Regions from separate parts of the Homo sapiens genome. Here region 1 is linked to region 2. Evidence: promoter capture Hi-C in human tissues and cell types (Jung and others, 2019). All regions are on one chromosome and are shown on one strand. The core of a region is centred on a gene start or on the middle of the fragment in contact, and the rest is flanking DNA. Distances in the headings are between cores, read along the strand shown.

Evidence for each region. Contacts are between HindIII fragments. The study calls those that stand out against the background at their distance.
Region 1: a contact is called between a fragment that was not itself captured here and the fragment with the promoter of RGMA in region 2, in 2 of the 25 tissues and cell types used here (H1 embryonic stem cells and dorsolateral prefrontal cortex).

What each region holds. Positions count from the first base shown.
Region 1 is chr15:93,598,988-93,604,427 of GRCh38, forward strand. The region is part of intron 5 of LOC107983974 (a long non-coding RNA gene); the gene reads left to right. Among named protein-coding and RNA genes, the nearest start is that of LINC02207, 250 kb to the right of the region's middle. The HindIII fragment of the contact is 6,387 bases long and covers 459-5,440 here.
Region 2 is chr15:93,086,227-93,091,207 of GRCh38, forward strand. It overlaps RGMA (repulsive guidance molecule BMP co-receptor a), which reads right to left and starts at 2,985. Exons shown (of 4, transcript NM_020211.3): 1 at 2,693-2,985. The coding sequence starts at 2,706. It overlaps LOC101927025 (a long non-coding RNA gene), which reads left to right and starts at 2,988. Exons shown (of 5, transcript XR_007064769.1): 1 at 2,988-3,051. The HindIII fragment of the contact is 13,871 bases long and covers 1-4,981 here.

The DNA of each region.
Region 1 (5,440 bases), core at 2,402-4,901, 510 kb after region 2:
CCTCCCTTTGCATTCTGGAATCTACTACCGTCTGCCTCCTGCACCCCTTCCCTTTTCGATAGCATCCTTTGCCTCCCCAGGAAAACTCCCAGTATCTCTGTCCTAGGTACTGCTCTATGAAATTGTAATTTCTTAGCCATAAACTGAAAAATATGAAGAGAAGTCTCAGATTCTGATCAGGCCGCCTTCATGTTTTGGTGTTGGTCTCCAATCCATTCAGGCTCAAGAGCTGCCCCATGGCTACTGTGGCCTTTGACTGGAGCATCTGCTCTACCAATCTTCAGACTTAGAGCAGGTGGGACTTCACTCAGAGCAATATAAGGAGAGAGGGGTCCCCCCAGGAAGCTCTCTCCCAGTCTAGCTCCTTGTCCATATACCGAGGATGCATCTTTCCAGTCCCTGGGGTAAAATTCTAAAATGGAATACCACGTCCTGGTCATGAGTAGAGAGAAGGAAATGATAAGGTGGACTGGGTACGCTGAAAACAAATTGTATCAGACTCGTCTCATTCAGTGCTTTTGAGAGCTACTATGCTGAAGATTCAGAAAATGAGGTACCTCTAGGAGAAAAGAGAAGGGCATGATATCTTTTGAAGCCTTGTCGACTAGATGAAAAAATACAAGAAAGATCAATGAGTTGTAGGTATTTTTAGATGGCTGTTGAGTGGCCCCAGCTAAGTCAGTTAATTGATTAATGTCTACCTGAAGAGGATTCTAGTAGTGTGCTTCAGGGATTTGACCTTTGTCCTATCCTGATAGTTCAGTATTATTTTATTAATGACATGGTGAAATATAAAGGCATATTCATATTTATAAATGTTCAAAAGCTAGGAGGGGGGACTGTGCCTATGTTGTATGTGAGAATCTGGTTCTAAATAAACATCAAAAAGATTAGAGAGACTAATGTAATAGAAATTAATAGGAATAAGTATGCGGTTCTAAAATTTTCCTCCAAATATCACAGGATTAGCACTAGTTAATGTTGAGCATTTTAGTTCGCAGTAAGTAAACTTAATAATTTGTCAGCCACATTACACTTATTAATATTATTGCCAAAAGTTGCATGTAGAGGAATACGTTAGAAAAAGGGAGGTAAGATCTTGCTCTTCCCTGTTCTGGTCAAACTTTACCAAGACAACTTAGTTCCAGTCTGAGTATCAAGCTTTAAGAGATAAAATGATGCATTCTGGAATCCACTACCCAAAATTCAGCCTCCGCAGTGAAACAGAGTACATTCATGGCATTATCAGAGCAGTGAAAATGCTCACAAGCTACGTCACCTAAGGACTCATTTAAGGAACTTGTGATTTTCATCCTGTAAAAAAGGATGACTGGGAAGGAGACGAACATCCTCAAGTAAGGGATGTTGGGAGAATAAAAAAAAAAAAAGGAATCAGCTGCATTTTATGTGAATCTTCCAAAGGATAGGGTTAAGACCAGCGGGTGGAAGTTGCAGAACGACAGATTTCAGCTCAATGTGTGGAAAACATTCGAACAGAGCTTAGCCATTGGACACTTCATCTTTGGAAAAGGGTTGACTGATAAAGGAGATGTTTAAACCTAAGCCATATGGTTCGTTAAAACCACACGGTGGGCAACAGGAGAAGAGATCATAAAATGTTCCTATAACTCAAAATTGCTTAGCTGATTTGAGGAAGCTTCATGGGGGAGATAAAAATGGAGCTGTGCCAGGAAGGACGGACAGATAGGACTTAGTTCATGCATTTTCAACATGGTGACATTGCCCTAAGGGAATGAAATCGGTTCTTGGAGGGTGAAAAAATCTTGGCTATTCAAATTGTTTGTGACCCTCCTCAGAGCCACAGTACATAGACAGACATACAGTATATCTTTGATATTAATATTTCATGCTGGAAGGAGAGTGGTTAGGGAAATGCTCTAAAAAGTTTCCTTGGCCAGGGACGGTGGCTCACATCTGTAATCCCAGCACTTTGGGAGGCTGAGAAGGTCGGATCACTTGAGGTCAGGAGTTCGAGACCAGCCTGGCCAACATGGTAAAACCCTGTCTCTACTAAAAATACAAAAACTAGCTGGTTGTGGTGGTGGGCACCGTAATCCCAGCTACTGGGGAGGCTGAGGCAGGAGAATTGCTTGTACCTGGGAGATGGAGGTTGCAGTGAGCTGAGATGGCACCACTGCACTCCAGTCTGGGTGACAGTGTGAGACTCTGTCTCAAAAAAAAAAAAATTTTTTTTTCCATTAAGGAGGCACAGTGAAAAAAATGGTATATATATGTTTTCTTTTCTTTTCTTTTTCTTTTTTTTTTTTTTTTTGAGATAGGGTCTTGCTTTGTCCCCATCCACAGCATGGAGTGCAGTGACTCAATCACAGCTCATGGCAGCCTTGAACTCCTAGACTCAAGTGATTATCCTACCTCAGCCTCCCCAATAGCTAGGACTACAGGGCATTGTTGCATAAAAAATTGCCACAAACTTTGTGACTTGAAGCAACACACATTTATTATCTTATGGTTCTGGAGGGTCAGAAGCCCAAATGAGTTGGCAGAGCTGCAGGCCTTCTGGAGGTTTTAAGGGAGAATTCATTTCCTGGCCCTTTCCACCTTCTAGAAGCTGCCACAGTTCTTGGATCAGAACTTAGCATTATTCTAATTTCTGCTTCAGTCGTACATCTCCTGTTTCTCCGTTTCTTTAGAAAGCCCCTATAATTACATTAGTGCTACTAGTGTTACATTAGTGGATAATGCAGGATAATTTCTCCCATCTCAAAGTCTTACACAGGCAACATTCTTTTGCCATAACAGGTAACACAGTCACAGGTTCTGGGATGAGGATGTAGATATGTGGGGAGGGGGATGTGCATTCTTTTGCCTATCAGTTGGGAAATGCTGACCGATGATGCATCATTAGCCACGTGTTAGGAGGAACAAGGAAGGAAAGAGAACACAGATGGTTCTGTGCAATCATAACTGTGAAAAAGTGGCTCAGGACAGAGATAGATACAGAAGCATGCTAAGCCCAAGTATGGGCACCATTATTATAATTTGAACTGTTGTCGTTCACCACTGTTATCATTGTCATCGTTTAGACAGGGCTAATTTTTAAGTATCATTTGCACATGAAATCCAAAAGCCTCAGTCATTCCCTGTGGTAGTTTTGTAGGGCTGCCATAACAAATTAATACAGATTGGGGGCTTATAACAGAAACATATCCTGCCACGGTTCTGGAGGGCAGAAGTCAAAAATCATGGTGTCGGTAGGGCCATCTTCCCTTTGCAGCCTCTACAAGAGAATCCTTCCCTCTCTCTTCCAGCTTCTGAGGGCTTGTGGCTGCATAACTCTAAGTTCTGCCTCTACCCTCGCATGGCTTCCTTCTTTTCTCACTCTATGTTCACGTCTTCTTTTCTGTCTTTTACAAGGACGCTTCTTTTCTATCTTTTATAAGGACACTTCTTTTCTATCTTTTATTTATTCATTTATTTATTTTTCTATCTTTTATAAGGACATTTCTTTTCTGTCTTTCATAAGGACACATCACTGGATTCAGGGTTCATCTTATAATCCAGGATAATTACATCTACAAAGACCTGTTTTCCAAGTAAGGTTATATACACAGTTTCCAGGGTTAGCACGTGGACTTATCTTTCTGGGAGACACCATTCAACCCACTAAGTTCCTGAATCAGAGCTGCCTCAAGGGAAAGAAATGGTAATTTTATCCTTAAAGATAAACACCAATATGCTGGGCTTAACGATTAATCATTCTCTCAGTAGTGTTCCTAGGCGTTAGTGGGCTGCAGCTTATTTGGTGGGTAGGTCCAGGGGGCACTTAGGGATCTATACTACTTGCAGACTCCCTTGGTGGGGAGTAGAGTATGATGCTATTTCAAAGTGCTTGTCTTGATGCTTCTCTTTTCTCCCCTCACTTCCCTTCTCCCCTCCTTCACGCAGTAGCTGGGGTTGCACTTTTAAAGCACAGAGCTGAACACAGCATTTCTTCCTCAAAACAGTCACTGATTTTTTTCCTTATTTCTTCAGACTAAGTCCAGATTGCCAGCTGGGCATTTAACCCGTTTAATGAACCTGGTCTCATACTCATCTCAGTCTCGACCCTAAGCTCCAGTTCTTTCAGGCGTTTCCCTGCTCTCTGTGACCATCTGCTATTCCCCTGGGATCACGTCACTGCTTTTGGGGTTCCTTCATCCATCCTTCAGGAAGGCTCCTCCCCGCTAGCATGTATTCCTCCTTCCCAGTGCAAGCACATTGATTTCCCATTTTCTGTGCTTCTCAGACTTTAGAGTGAACAGGAATCACCTGCAGAGCATGTTGAAATGCAGATTCTGACTCGATCTGGGGTGGGCTGGAGACAATGCATGTCTAGGAAGCATCCAAATGATGCTGATGCTGTCCTTAGGGACCACACTTCAGTAGCAAAATTCTATAGCCCGCCACTGTCTGCCTTAACTGGTTAATTATGGGTATGTGTGGAGGGGAAGGTGTCTCTCTTCCTCTCCCCAACAGGCTCTGATCGCTCAGAGATGAAGAACAGTGGTTTGTTTGTCAAAGCTGATGAATGTGAGTGGAGGTAAATTACATTTGAGTAAAAATGGAGAGTAATTGCTGTAATTCGGCTTGGCTGTATCCCTTCTGCTGTTGCACGGTGGGCTCTGGAGAGGGACATCCAGTGCCCTTAGCTGGCTAAGGAGATGGCCATGACCACTGGTTTTCAAGAACCAAAAGCCTATCTGAAGTATCTTTATGCACCCAATCAACTCTCCTTCCAGCAAAAGTAATTGTTTAAGCAGATAACATCACCAGCAGATCCAGGCCACAGCAGCTATTCAGAGAGAAACATTTCCCATCATGTTTGTAGAATCAGGAGAAAGCATATTTTCTCCTAAAAACAGTGTCTATTGGGAGCATGTGGAATGAAATGGTAAAACTCTCATTTTGGGGTGGGCTGCCTTGTTCTGCTACTTTCCTTTAGAAGTAAACTGGAGAAAAGCTTAATAGAAACAAAATATTTCTATAGGCACCAGCAGACTACTAAGAAACAGAGGCCACTTGGTTTTTCCTATCCCTCTGCATGCTCGGTGGAAACATTAGACAAGTGAAAAAGATGAAACAGCTTTAAAAAGAGAGAAGACAAAGTGTAGTTTGGTAGAGAAATACCACCACACCCCAAGAATGAAGGGTACAGGGATTTCACCAACAGGAGCGGGGTAAGTATAGTAGGCTGACCAATTCATCTTGGCTGCCTGGAACTGTCCTGGTTTTAGTATTGAAAATTCCAGGTTCCAGAAAACCCCTCAGGTCTGGGCAAACTGGGAAGTTTGATCACTGTCCATATAGGGAGAGCCACCGTAAGGAAGGTTTTAAAGCAGTTCATTTGGCTCCTTCTTGTGTAAATTTCTTCAGCTGCATTCTTTCCTCCTGGTGGTCCCCATCTGCCTTCCCACCTCCC
Region 2 (4,981 bases), core at 1,735-4,234:
GGGATGTTATAAGTCAAGTTCTAGAATAATTACCTGTAAGGAGTAGTGTCATTTCGTTTCACAGAACTAACAGATTCCAATTTGCCTGCGCTGCTTTCAGATAATCCTTCTATGTTTTTGCTCAATTGCACTTGGATACTTCCTGCCTCTTTCCCTGGATGGCAGGCTTCTTGATGGATCGGTGACCGTGCCTTCTTTCATGTCTATACTGCATGCTTCAAGGCAGGAACAAATTTTGCAACCATACTTGGTAAAAACAAGCGCTAGAACTTAATTCATTTGGTAGCAAGGTTGTAGGGGGAAAAACGCACTTTAGACTCACAGAACACTGGCCATATCCCTTCTGCTTTCTGGCCATCAGTTTCTTCTGAGAAACTGAAAATACCAGCACCCATTCCTGCCTGCTTCCTGGGAGCAGCAAGCATCCCTGGAAGAATGGCTGAAAAACTCCCTGTCCCAGTGTCAGGGATGCTCAGTCCCTATTTATTTCATTTTGCAACTGCTCGTCTAAGAATTCTTGGGCTTGGCTTCTCACAGGGCTGCTGAAGAGCAAGGGATTGTATTAAAAAGGAGATTCTTGTGCCTTTATTGTCTATTATTACATACACTGGGAAGCAGCAAGTTATTCCTTGGAGGAGGTTTGTAAAAAGAGAAAGCAGGCAGAGGTTTCTTAGCAAAAGTCAAAGGTGCCCTCCTTGAATGAGATGCCAAGCTATTCTAAGACCTCGTCTGTCACAAGTCTCATGATGACATAAATACCTACCAATGGAGACACAGTTTGAGACAGCATGACGGGGCAGACCAGCCACCCACCATTTCATATGTCTATTGGAGAATGTAAGCAACTGTCTGACACCTGGGAGGGAAATAATGGAAGCAGGGTACTTGAAAAAAGGAGGCTAAGACCTCTTTCACTACCAGCACAGCCCAGAGAGTCTCAAGGGGGTACTACAGTAGACCACTACACTGCTCTACAAGGGGCCAGGGTGCCCTTCAGAACCGGGTGAGCCCAGCTCACTGCTAATATATTATCTGGCCTGGAAGGTGGCAGCAAAAACCAGCCACAGAGAACGTGGAGCCCGCCTGGATGTGTGGGTGCCCCACCCAGAGCCTTTGTCTGCAGAACTTGCCATCCAGCCACGTCTGCCCCAGTTGTTAATTGGAGATCATGTCCCTGTAAAGGGGGCTTGCTTGTCACTTGCTGTGGTAACAGCAAGAAACCCCTTCTTTGTATGTGCAAAAAAAAAAAAAAAAAAAACCACAAAACCCAGTTTGGGTACACTATTCTGTTCCTGCACAAATGGGCAGGAGGCCCTCTCCCAGTTCTCCTCCTGTTGCCCTTCGGAGCACAGTTACTCTCTTTTCTAGGGGTCATGGCTCAAAATCCACCCAAGAAATCACCCGTTTGTGATGCACAGGAGAAGACAGAGGTTTGTGCATTGGTTTTCAAGATCTCTGCACCAGATACCTGCGGAAGGGGCATCTTCTTACAGCAGTTAACATTTTATATTACGTTTTTGCTGGAAGAGTCTAAAACCAAACAGAGAAGGTGATGGAGCTCCTTTAGGTGACAGCATGCCACTCAACACGACCCGCAATTTCGTCCCCTGAGCTCAATGTGCTGAGCATGGGAGGTCGGGGTTCTCCCTGGTACCGTCGATACTCAGAGAGCTTCTGTAGCCTCCTTCCTGGAGGCGAGGGCTGGTTCCCGCCTCTCCACCTTGTGCGGGAGACTACTTTGAGAACACCCAACAACTTCGCAGCCTAAGAGGAATGCACAGCTCACCACTTCCGCTAGATGGCGCTACTTCCCCTACTCCGCCCGCGAGACACCCAATTTATAAAATAAATACAACCCAACACCTCCCAAAACCACACCACATAATAGCAGCTCACAGGCTCCCATTAGAAATCTCAATTTGGGAGAACTGATTCTACCTCCGAGCAAGTCTAATACAATTACATTAATAAGACGCAATCCCGAATTGCACCCGAGCGTCCCCCACACCCGCCCTCCCATTGAATACACCTGTCCCCCATGCCCGGGCTTGTACCCTGGGTTGAGCTGCGGCGCGAGCCGGCGCTGAATCGTCGCCGTGCCCTCCCGTCCACTTAGGAAAGCCGGGGCGGCTTGGCAATGGGCATCCTCGGCCCTCAATCCAAGGTCCGCACCTTCCCGTACGCCGGCGCGCCGAGGCAAAGGGCCGCCGGGACGCGAGCCCACGCGGTGCACTGCGCCGACATCCCCGAGGGCAGGAGATGGCCAGGCAGCTCCGCAGCCGGGCGTCGAGCGGGAGGCGGGGGCCCGGGCGGCGCGGGCCAATGGGGGTTCACGGCGGGACAGTCGGGTGGCCGGCTCCGTCCGGGGCTCCGCGAGCCGGGCTGAGGGAAGGAGCTCCCAGCCCGCACACGGTGTAAGGGACGTGTGCCGGGTCTGCCCAACCACGCGCGCTGGCGGCTGCCCGGGGGAGAGTATTTTAGGAAAAAAGAACAAACACCAAACCACAAAAACTTTCCTGCTGCCAACAGCTAAAGCGATAGAGGCGCAGCAAAGCTCCAAATGTGGGCAAGATGGGAGCAAGATGAGACGCGGGGCTAAGGAAGACCAAAGCAGCGCCGTGGCCCCGGCATGTGTCGGCGGCGCCTCGGAGATGTCAGAGCCGGGTCTGCCCGGCTCCCGACCCGCGCTTACCTTGGCGGCTGCATGAGCCCCTGCGGCCCGCGGGGGGTGGCGCTGGCGGGGCTGCGGGAGAAGAGGGGGTGTCGGGGCGCCGCTCGTCTGCCCCGGGGCAAGGTGGGAGGGGCTCCGCTGGCGCTGGTCCCCGCCGCCCCGGCCGGCTCAGCAGCGGCCCGGGGAGCGCCTCCTGCTCCCGGGCTGCATGCCTGCGAGCGCCTGGCGGAGCCGGCCCGGGAGCGAACGGCCAGTGCTTCCCCGGCCCAGCGGCTCGGGCGGCGCAGCCAGCGCTCGGGAGACAACTGCAGAGTGGGGCGGCCGGGACCAGCCCCCTCCCTCGCCCGGCCCCCGCCCGCCGCCGAGCGCGGCGTCGCGAGGTTCGTTTGCGCGCCGAGGGGAGGGGGCGGGCCGGGCGCCCGGGCCGCGGGCGGGGGGCGCGCGCGGGCGGGGCCGGCAGGGAGGGGCGGGGAGGAGCGGGGTGCGGGCTCGCGTTGCCCCGCCCCGCCGCGGCCCCACCCTCCCGCATCAGCACCGGCTGGGTGGGTGCGGAGTGCGCCAGCGGCCAAGTCAAGACTCCTTGAATGCTCAGGTTAGGGGGCGCGGGCGGCAAGTGCGGCGACTCCCCGGGGCGCCTCCAACTTTCCGAATCGCCCGCAGGGTTGCGGTGGAGCGCACGGTGTCCTTCAGTTAGGCGGTGGTCGAGGGGAGTTCCTCTGAGATTTCTGGAGAAGGCGGTTACATCCAAGACAAATGCTGTTGCGCTCTGCGGAGACGCACCTTTGTTCTATAGAGATTTTGTTGTTGTTTAAGAATCTTCCTGAAAAAACTAATACATATGTATTACATGCTAACACACGCATACATTCTTGCGTAGAATTGTACATAACTCAGGAGTGTCTAGAGTGAAAAGACCGTATCGCACTCCCTCCCACGGCCGCGGCTCTCCCACGGCCGCGGCTCCCCCGCGGTAACCTTCGGTCAGGGTGTGCTCTGCCGCGGTTCTTTCCAGTCTCTGCGCTTTTACATGCACACGCACAGATTGCGAGTGGAATCTCCTGGGCTTTTCAAAAGAATGTTTTCAACATTAAGCGCATGCACACAGTGGCTTGAACACGGCCACGTCGGGAGCAGTAAATCCCCAGAGGCTCCGGGAGCCCAGGGAAGGACCCTTGCTGTGAAACAGCAAAGAGCCACCCAATCGCCATGTGTGGATCTGAAACCCCAGCTGGAGCGTGAAGTCGGTCTGGTTACACAGCTCAGGCCCAAATTAGCACTGCACGGTTAGAGAGATTTGCCAGTACATTCTAGACAGGGTTATGACCTTCCCCTTCTTACAGAACAAACTGTCTTGAATTTTGATATGATGAGAACTCTGGATTTGCAAAATGAAAAGGTATCGTCCGCATTAAAACACGATCGTTATTTATGCGTGTGGTCTTCAGAGATGTGGTTTTAACTCAATATTCTCCGTTTTATTTGTCAAGTGTATTTGTATAATCTATAGCTGGGATATAAATAAAATTAAGTGGTTTAGCAGGAAGGGATTGGGGATGGGTTTCTAGAATTAGCTCTGACCTTCGGCAAGTCATCTAGCTCTGCTGGGCCTCAGTTTCCTCATCTATGAATAGTAGGGTGTGTGTGTGTGTGTGTGTGTGTGTGTGTGTGTGTGTGTGTGTGGTCTTCCTGCCCTGACATTCTGTGCCCTGACATTCAGTGAATAACCAATTTCTTCATCTTTCATAGCTCAGCTCCAACATCTTCCCCACCCTCTAGGGAGTCCTCACATCCGTGCCTTTCCTTCCTAACACTGAGCTCACTCGGTAATTAGGCGCTCATTAGAGTGACCTTTCCCTACATGTTGGCCTCTCCCACCGTACCATAAGCATCATGAGGGCAGGAACCAGGACTCCTTGGAGTCATCATTGCATTCCTAGCACTTAATATGGTGCCTGGCACACTACAAGAATCTCTGAATGACTGTCACGCAGATAGTAGATTTCTTACTGTTCTTCCAAATTGCCTGGCATTTTTAAAAGGTCTGTAAGTGGAAACGTGTCTTTTTAAAATGAGGCCTTTGGAAAGTAACCAGCAGGGTTTTCCCATGGTGGGGGACAAACAATCCACTGTCTAGATAAGGACAGACAATTCTCAGCTCAATCAAGGGCCGTGGAGGTAGCCGGTAACTATTTACCTTGATGAGTGCAGGCACCCGTGGAGAAGACAACGAATATTAATGCTACTCGTTAAGTACTTGGTTAAGTTAGAACCCTGCATAGGCAGTTGGAATACACAGAGTGCTCAGATTTA